2 separate regions of the Homo sapiens genome follow, and region 1 is linked to region 2. The links are contacts of gene promoters, found by promoter capture Hi-C in blood cells and fetal thymus (Javierre and others, 2016). All regions are on one chromosome and are shown on one strand. Each heading gives the region's core, a stretch centred on a gene start or on the middle of the fragment in contact. The rest is flanking DNA. Distances are from core to core; before and after follow the strand shown. Region 1 overlaps UBASH3A (ubiquitin associated and SH3 domain containing A). Region 2 holds the start of PRDM15 (PR/SET domain 15).

The links. The method cuts DNA at HindIII sites, captures the fragments that hold promoters and counts their contacts. A CHiCAGO score of 5 or more calls a contact.
Region 1: a fragment that was not itself captured here is called in contact with the fragment with the promoter of PRDM15 in region 2 in 1 of 17 cell types (M0 macrophages); the score reaches 5.1 in M0 macrophages.

The regions. Positions count from the first base shown.
Region 1 is chr21:42,445,359-42,449,962 of GRCh38, forward strand. UBASH3A (ubiquitin associated and SH3 domain containing A) reads left to right here. Exons shown (of 15, transcript NM_018961.4): 15 at 1,699-2,326. The coding sequence ends at 1,836. Among named protein-coding and RNA genes, the nearest start is that of UBASH3A, 44 kb to the left of the region's middle. The HindIII fragment of the contact is 4,588 bases long and covers 1-4,306 here.
Region 2 is chr21:41,876,338-41,881,103 of GRCh38, forward strand. PRDM15 (PR/SET domain 15) reads right to left here and starts at 3,007. Exons shown (of 24, transcript NM_001040424.3): 1 at 2,933-3,007. RefSeq lists enhancers at 1,831-1,880, 2,881-2,930 and a silencer at 3,081-3,130. The HindIII fragment of the contact is 16,753 bases long and covers 1-4,766 here.

The DNA.
Region 1 (4,604 bases), core at 763-3,262, 570 kb after region 2:
GCACGTGCAGCATAGACAATGCCTGTCATCGGAGGTGCTTGAGGCCCTGACCTGGTTTCTTCACATAGCACTGCCACAGGACCACACTGGCCACAGCTTGTTTGCCATAAGTTGTGGGCAGCAGTGGGGGTTGCTGAGTCCCCCCAAGAGGTCAGGGGCTTCAGAGGAGCCCAACTCCCGGGCCCAGCCCAGTGACACCAGCCAGGTGCCTGCAGGAGGGCTTAGCTCTCTAGCTACGCCTGCCTCAGCAGCCAGATGAGAGGTTACGCACATGAAGAGCATGCCTGCCGTGGGTCATTGTCACTCAGCAATTAGGCATCAGACACCCGAATCTCCCTTTCTTGCTCCATTTTCCTCTGCACCTGAGTAGAAACATGCTTCCCCTGCAAAATGTCTCCAGGGTGGTGTGTCCCAATTATGATCCAGACATTTCCGAGCGCCCTGGATTCTTGAGCCACCAGGTGAGCATTGTCCAAATAGGGCAGCTCAACCCCCCTGGGCCACACTGGTAGAGGTCTGCATGGATTTTCCTGGGGACTGTCCGGGGCAGCCCCGGCACCACCTGCTCCCAAAATGTTGCTCTTGCTTCTGCAAATGGGTCTCCCACACATGCGCTCTGATGCATTCCTCCTGTCCCTGCCCCGCTTCCCACAGTCCCATATACACATACCAAGCCTCCAGCCCCAGGCGCTCCTGGGGGCCCACGTAACCAAGGGTGGCAGCACTGCACACACCAGCTGCTGACAGTTCCTCAAACCCATGAGCCTTTGTGGCCAAAGCTCCACCCACTCCTTGGACCCTTCACCCCCTTCCATAGATGCCAATCTTGAACTTCCAAACTCCTGGACTTTCTTATGCTGGTCACGTGGCGTTCACCCTGCCCCTACCCCAAAATAAGCTGGACTTGCTCATGCATATCAGAAAATACAAAGGGGGGGCTCTACCAAATGATGGGCCCCCAAATCAGGGCAGCTGGAAAGGGAGCACTCAGGACCCTCCCCGACCAGCCCATCACCGCCCCTCGCCCACAGCCTCTGCAAGCGTGAGGAAAGAATCACCCTAGGGTCAACACCAGCCTCACTCAGACCCCCCTGCCAGTTGGCATTTTTGTAAATTTCATCTGCCTGAGGAATTTCTAGACATTAGAAAGAGGAAGGAAAGAAAGAAAAGAAAAGACAAAAACAAAAAAGGCTTCACCACAAAGCTCTGTTCTCACACATCCATTTCACAGATGAAGGGATGGAGGTCTAAAGGTTCACTTTGTGCTTTTCTTTTGGGTCTGAAAACTCAATGTCTGTGTCTTTTTGTGATGCTGAATATGAGAATATGAGTCACTCCTTAAGTGGTGGATGGCAATCTCCACCTCAGCCTGCAGACCTTTGTGGTGGGGGCTGTTCTACTCATTGTAGGATGTACCACCTTGTAGGACCTCTACCTGCTAGGTGTCGGCAGCACCTCCATCCTCAGTTGTGACAATCAGAAATGTCTCCGGAATTACCCAGTGTCCCCTGGCTAGGGGACATCCCCCACGGGGCACCGCCAGGGCAGATGTTGGTGCCATTCAATGGTGGCAGTGCCAGCCTGGGCAGTCGCAGACCCTCCAAAGTAGAGGTGTGCCTGACAGTTGGCTTTGGAGCTAGTCTGAAATTGATGGACTTGCTATAAGATATTAACAAGTGATTTAAAACTCTGTTCCAGATCCCTTCCCTGGGCATGTGCTTCTGTGAAGAAAATAAAGAGGAAGGAAAATGGGAGTTGGTGAACCCACCGGTGAAGACCCTGACCCACGGGGCGAACGCAGCATTTAACTGGAGGAACTGGATCTCAGGCAACTGAGAGCCACGGTGATGTTGTCATAACCTCAGAGTGGAGAGGCAGAAACCATGTGCAGAGGCTGGGAGATGCTGCTGTTTCCAGAGGCGTCTTAGTCTCACCCAATGTGATTTGTAGAAGCACGAGACGCACTTTTATATCCCGGAATATTTCCCTCCGGCTTTCGCCTTTGTAACTCCCATCTGTGGACCCATCGTCCACCAGCCCAGCTGCGGGGAGCACAGGGCAGGTGGCTGGGTGAGGATGCCGCCCTGCAGCATGTACACCGAGTGTCTGCAGCTGGGGACACAACTGCCCGGGACTCTAACTTCCAGGAATTAAAGACTCACCACACACGAAGGATCTAACCACTTCATTTTCCATGGTCTAATCATTAAATTCCCAATCGTTTTTTCTTTTTCTGGGTCCATCACTCTTTAGCCATATCCACATGGGCTAAAACAGGTGTAATAGTCAATAAAATGGTCCCAGAAAACCATCGACCAGGTCAAAACTGGGTTGCTGCTCCGTGCTGTCAACATTCATGTTACTATGTCTCTGTGGTTGCTGTAACCAATGACCACAAACCTGGGGGTCATGGAAAGAACACAAACTTTACACACACACACACACACACACACACACAGGCACATACACACATGCACATATGCATACAAAGACAGGCACACACGAGCATGCACACACACAAACACGTGCACATACACATGCGCACACACATGCACACGCACATGCACACACACGCAGGTACACAAGCATGCAAACACACATACACATACAAACGCGTGCATGCATACATGCACACATGAGCACACAAACACATGCACACACTTGCACACATGCACACAAAGGCATACACATGCAATGCACACACACAAACACACATGCACACACAGGCACACACACGCTCACATGCACACACACACACGCTGACTCTCCTACGGTTCTGGAGGTTGGCATTTTCTCAGCAGGCTATGTTTCTTCTGGAGCCTCCAGGGGAGGATCCTTGCCTTTTCTCACTTTTAGAGGCCACCTGCATCCTCCCTCCTCAAGTACAGCGGCGTAGCAGCCTCCAAGCTCTCTCAGTCTCTGCCTTCACAGCCACATCGCCTTCTGCTTCTGACTCTCCTGCCTCCCTCCTACAAGGGCCCTTGTGTTGACACTGGGCCCACCCAATAACCCAGGATCAATTCTCATCTCAAGAGCCTTAACCACACATGCAAAGTCCCTTTTGCCACATAAAGTTGCATATTCCCAGGTCCCGGGGATTAGGACATGAACATCTTTGGGGGTTATCCTGTAGCCTGCCATAACATACCCCAATCCTTCCAAGCACAGCGGAGCTGCCCGTACAGGGCCTCGGACATAGGGATTTGAGACACTCCCCTTGCAGGCCTTTTTTGGCTTCTCCTATTCTTGTTTCTGATCACGTAGAGGAGAGAAGAGGACTTTGCCAGTGGGAGAAGTAGGCTCCCCCGATTTAATGGGGCCCCAAAAGAAGGGCCACGAGCAAAGTGGAGTCTGTCCATGATGGTGATGCTGAGGAAGCTGGTCCAGCAGGGGATGGGGTCTCCCCAGTGGGGAGTCTCATGCCCCAGCCCACAGGTCACACCTGCTCCCACAGCCCACACATGTGGTGCCTCATGCTGCAGGCAGAGATCCCAGCACGGTGTAGTGACAGTCCATCGGTCTTTCATCTCTTCTAGCCCCCTGATCCAGTGCAGGTGTTATTTCATGATTGCAGTTTGGGGCTGTGGTGGTGGCTCTGTGAGTGCCTTTTATAGTGTGAATGCAGAGACAGGGCAGGAAGGACCCATGCTGCACCCTCAGCCTCCCCTGTGAGCACCCAGGCAAGTGGAGGGCAGAACACAAAGGGAGCTCTTGTAGAAATAAAGATGGTGAACACCCCGGGCTGTGACAAAAACGGCCCACATTGTGTAGAATGCACAGGAGGCCAGACCCAATAAAAGTTTCCTTGCTGTTTTAGTCAATCAAACACGACCTCCTGAGAAAAAGACGCATCTGTCTGTCCCTTGTTTTATTTCACTAATGATGTAGTTTTTCTGTGTCCAAACATAAAGAAGTTTGAAGTTGACACAGCCACAGAGAGCAGAGCATGCACCCCACTCACAGGCCTGCTTCGAGTCCAGGCCATACCGAAATGACGTCTTCAGGGAGATTGTTCTAGACGCATCCCAGCAGATACCGACTAGAGAAGAGATGGATTCACTGGGATGTAGGTGGCTGGGCAGTACGTCCTGCAACAAATACACCCCACCGCTGGGCACCTGGGTGGTTGTTCTTTCTCCTCGGCAAGTGTGTGGTTGGGTCCAAGTCCCTCCTGGATACCACAGTGCCACGCTCGCTAATCATGATGATGAATTAAAGTGCTGCAAGTCAAGGTATGGCATTGAAATCACAGTCACGTGTTCAGGTGGTCTGTAATGAATCTCTGGATTCACCTTCTCAGGGGTGAAGCTTCCAGGTCCTCCACCCTGGGCAAAGCCAGACACAGGTAATTCCCCTCTCATCCTGCTGGGCTGCTCACAGGTTTTGCAAGGAGAATGAGATGGGTTTGAAACTCAGATCTCCAGATCTCCAGATCTAGTGTGCAAGAAATAGCATTTTCTCGATATTCTATGCTTCTGGTTCTGTCAGACCCTCATTCCACCCCCAAGGCAGAGGACCCCAGTTCAGTGGTTCTGTTCCTCCAGAAGGAACCATTCGCTGTATGGACTGAGCCTTGCGGACAGAGCTGGGCTGGAAAAGGGCAG
Region 2 (4,766 bases), core at 1,757-4,256:
CGAGCACAGAGAAGCTGGTTCCAGAAATAAGGAGACGGGAGCAGAAGGGGCTTGGTCACAGCAGAGTCCCCCAATGCCACATCCTCTTGAGTTCTGAGCCTGAATTCATCAAAGATCAACTTGTCATCAACGATCACCATGAACACCGCTGGTGTAGAGGCTCCCGCAGCTGCTGCAGACCTGTGGCCCACGGGGGAGCCACTCCCCAACACCCTTACATCTGCTGGGACCCCGCAGTTTCCACACCCCAGGGCCATGACTGCAAGAGGAGGGACCTTTCCTTAGGAGGAGCCTTTTGAGGAGCGGACGTGGCCCCGGGGCAGGGTCTTCTCCCACTCTGAGGGAGAGTTTGAAGATGTCTGCTCTACAGGGCCCCTGAATGCCTCAGGTCACCTGCACCTCAGTAAATAGTAGCTCCAGTCACCCACCATGCATTTCCAACCAAACCAGCAGCAGGCCTGCCTGGCTCTGGAACTAGGCTCTGTCCTGCCCCATCTCCCCTTCTGCCTCCGAGTTCTGTGGAGTGGAATCATGCAGGGCCTGGATTCCAGTGATGCCAGCTCCATTCCCCACACACAGCCAAAAGATGCAGACTCTGCCCCGCCACTGCTCAAAGCCCCTCAGTGGCATCCACAAGGCAGTCAGAAGAAAATCTCTGCCTGGTGCATGGCCCCTGCTGCCCCACCTCCATGGCCACACTGGCCTGTCCCATCCTGGGCTCATCCCACCCCAGGGCCTTTGCATTTGCCACCATCTGCCTGGTGGGGGCAGGCACCACCGCACCCACCTCCACCAGAGGCTCCCTCACAGCACTGGTCTCCACTGTGGCCCCTCCTCAGACAGCCCCTTCTAGTCCCAGCCCCCAAGTGCCCCATCCCCTGCCCGCCACCTGCCTGCCCTCCTTCCTTTCTTCATGCTCTTCCCATCGTCTTACCTGAGAGTTTTATGATTTTCTGTCTACACCACCTCCACTCCCCTGCCCAGAACATTAGGTCCACCAGGTGCAGCCCTCTCTCCATTCACTACAGCGTGGGGGCACATAACAGGTGTTCAGTAAACATTGGTGGAAAGAATGCATGAATGGCCGAATGAATGAATATCTGCCCACACCAGCACTGTGAGGGGAGCTGAGCAGGGCCATCCACACTTTGCAAATGAGGAACGGAGTCTGAAAAATCATTTAAGTCACCGCTCACCATCCCAACCTCTTGAGCGCACGGGTGGAAGACACAGTTGCCTTAAATCTCCCTTCAATCTGCAAAATGGCAGGACTGTTCTTTCCTGGCCTTCTGTACAGATAATGACATCGAAAATGATATGAGAGCCACATCCTAAGTGAAAAGAGTTCTTTGTCAAATATAATTATTCTAAGACAAGCTAGCAGCCTTCCAACTACAGTTGATTTTTAAATTTATTTATTTGTCTTCTGGAGAAATAACCGTCCCGCCTGCTTCCAAAATGGAACATTTAGCTTGTTCTTTGCTGGCTACTTTGCGGCAAAAAGTATGAATCACAGATAGAAGAAAAACAAACTATAAAAAAAATGGTGTTTTTGCTCTTGAAAGTCTAAATTATAGAGCTACTATTTCTTAATCGTTCACCGTGAGGCAGCGATGTCAGGAAATCTGGGGAAGGAGTGAAGCAGTGAAAACGTGGAACACGTGAAAATGTCCGAGCTTGAAACAAAATACGGTAGTGGTGTGTGCACCGGGGTGGGATCACCACCCTTATCGAGTGTTGACATCATTGCATTCTCCAAGGAGAACTGTCACTGCTACCTTTTAAGGTACATCACAAAGCCAGTGGCTCCTTCACATGTCACCACCCTTCAGGAACCAAGCTAGGTTCTCCAAATTCACTTGAGTCTGGCTTAAGCCAATGTGGTTTTTTTAAAACGAGTGTTGGTAGCTTTAAATACACACACAGGTCCACGTGTCTCTGATCACACACTTGTTTCTACCGTTTTAAACTCCCTTTGGGGACTTGGGGGTGAGGGGCAATTTCTGAGCATTTGTGGGGGAAAAAACCATCCACTACATTAGGGGGTTAAGAAAGGTAAATGGGTGATAACTCTAACCACCAGATAGGAGTGTTTATTTCCATGAGTTTTCATTTCTATTTTCTCAAGGCTAACCCCTGCGTGAACACCTCCCCTCTAGCAGGACGCTGCGCGTGGCCCCCGTCCCCACCTGTCCACGCGAGGCGGGCCTCACCTGAGCGGCCGGGCACGCCCCGTCCCCGAACGGCCACCCACCCCGGGTAGGCACGCGTCACCTGTCCATCCACCTCGCTACCTTCTCTCTGCCACCAAAAGGCTTACGAAAATAAGGCGCAGGGGGTCTGGGAGACCCCATCACCAGGACTCAGCTTCTCTAAACGCGGGGTTGGGGGTCCAGGGACCCCCCCGTGCGACCCGCATGGGCTGTACCCGAGGGCGGGGGATAACGACATCCCCTGGGGCCTCGGCGACGACGCCGCCCGGCGGCGGGGGCCGCGGGGCCGCGGGCCGGGGCGGCGAAGACCCTGCGCCGCGCCCACGGGCGAGCGCGGCCCGGCAGCCCCGCGGCCCCGCGCTGGGCCTGGCCGCGGGCGGGCGGGGGGCGCGAGGCAGGGGACGGGGGCGCGGAGCCCGGCCAGGAGCGCCCGCGGCGGCGGGACCCGGCGGGCGGGCGGCGCGCAGGGCGATCCCGGAGCGGCTCCGGGAAATCCAGCCGGGTTTTGACTCCGATCGCCAACGGTGCCCGCAGCCGGCGAATGTAACAAAGAACAGTCGGCATGGCGGCTGGACCGGGGCGGCGCGCGGCTGCCGGGCGCGGGGGGCGGGGGGCAGCGGGCCCAGGGCGCGCCGGGGCTCGCGGGGGCAGCGGGTGCGGCCCGGGGCCGGCGGGGCGCACGCCGGGGCGGGCGGCGGGCGCAGGGCCCGGAGCTTTACCTGCCTTTGGAATGTGCAGAGCGGGATCGGATCCGGACTCCGGGTTGCGATCCGCTCCGGAAACTGCGCAGCACCGGAAGCCGGGGGGCGGCGGCGGGGCATGGCGGGACTTGTAGTCCGCGGGCGGGCGCGGGGGGCGCAGGCGAGACCCTGGCGCGGCCGGGGGTCCTGCGGGTGGGACTGCGGGGCGCGGGCGGCGTGGACGGGGCAGCGGGCGCGCGCGGGGCGGGTCTGGCCGGAGGGAATTCCGCGCGCGGCCCCCCTCCCACGTGGCACGGCCCTGCCGCCCACGCGCGCGGGCAGCTCCCTCTCCACCTCTCCTCGGACGCGTTTCTTGCGGAGTTGGGGAGTGGTGGCGGTGGGTGGGTCGAGTTTTTCTCTAGAACAGGCCTGGGACTTGCCCCCACTCACGGTGACCTCTGGATTTGGCCGGCGGGGCCCTGGGACACGAGCTCTGTGCCCGCGAGGGGAGTCTGGCCTGGCGGGCTCCGCCACGCTACCGGTGAGCACCGGGCCAGCCGCGGACCTGGCTCTCCATTCTTCCCCGGGGGCCTGTGTGGCCTCTCTTGACCCCCTCCACCAAGTGTGTGTGCCATCACAAAACGTGAGACGGAGAAGGGACAGACTTTTCACCTTAGTCCTGGCCGCCCATATTCAGAGAGGCCGACTGTCTTGTTCATTGCTGCCTGGCAAAAACCTACATTCATAAAGAGAAGTGATGAACCGGGGAAAATGATTTTAAATTGATGCCACAAAAGGGCTCGTTTCCCTCATGTACGTGAAACTCTTGTGAACCAATAAAAATATATATGTATATAGAAAAATGAGCAAAGTGTGTGGATGGACAGTTCGTAGGAAATTCAATGGTTCTTAAGCATATGAGAAGCTATTCAACTACGCTGCAATAAGAGAAAAAAAGTCGCAGTGGGATCATTTTTATTAGATTAGCAAAGATTTTTTAAAACGTTTAATACAACCTGGGCAACATAGCCAGACCTTGTCTCTAAAAAACTTAGCTGGGCTCGGTGGCACGTGCCCGTAGTCTCAGCTACTCAGGAGGCTGAGGCAGGAGGGTCACTTGAGTCCCACAGTTTGAGGCTGCAGTGAGCTGTGATCGTGTCACTGCACTCCAGCCTGGGCAACAGAGTGAGACCCTGTCTCAAACAAAAACAAACAAAAAAAAGTTTTAATAGCATAATTTTGAAGAAACTAGAGAAACAAGCTCCTTTACGGGTAGGAGAATAAATTAGCGTAGTTTCCATTCAGATATTTGTGGATATCCATAAAAATTCTAAATGCACATAGCCTTTGACCCACATGCAGGAATGGTGCCAGAGACGGACTCGCTTGTATGAATGGCATATGTGATCATCACATTTGCTTACATACTACGTGCCATCCCATGGGAAGTGTTGGATGCACCTGGGCACATCCATAGGCTGCAACGCCGGGCAGCCGGAGACAGATTAGGCAAGTGTTGATCTGTGAAGGCTGGTTTCTCTGCCTGGCCCAGCATTCTACAGTGGCTTCCATGTTGCACTATAGTAGGCCATCCCATGGCCCCCCAGACCTTTCTGGAGCATCCCCGGCGTCCACTGTCTCCCTGCTTGTCCCCACCTGCGACTTCATGCCTCCCTCCAGCCTCCTGTCCCTGAAGCCTGTTCCCAAGGCCTTCTGTACTCTATCTTCAAACACTTCCCAGGTTTTCCACAACCTTCTCTGTATTCAGGTCTCCGCCCAACCCCACTCCCACCACCACCACTACAGCTAATGGACATTCCCTCTATACACGCACCTCCAGTGACATCACTCACAGTTCCAAAATGGCCAGATG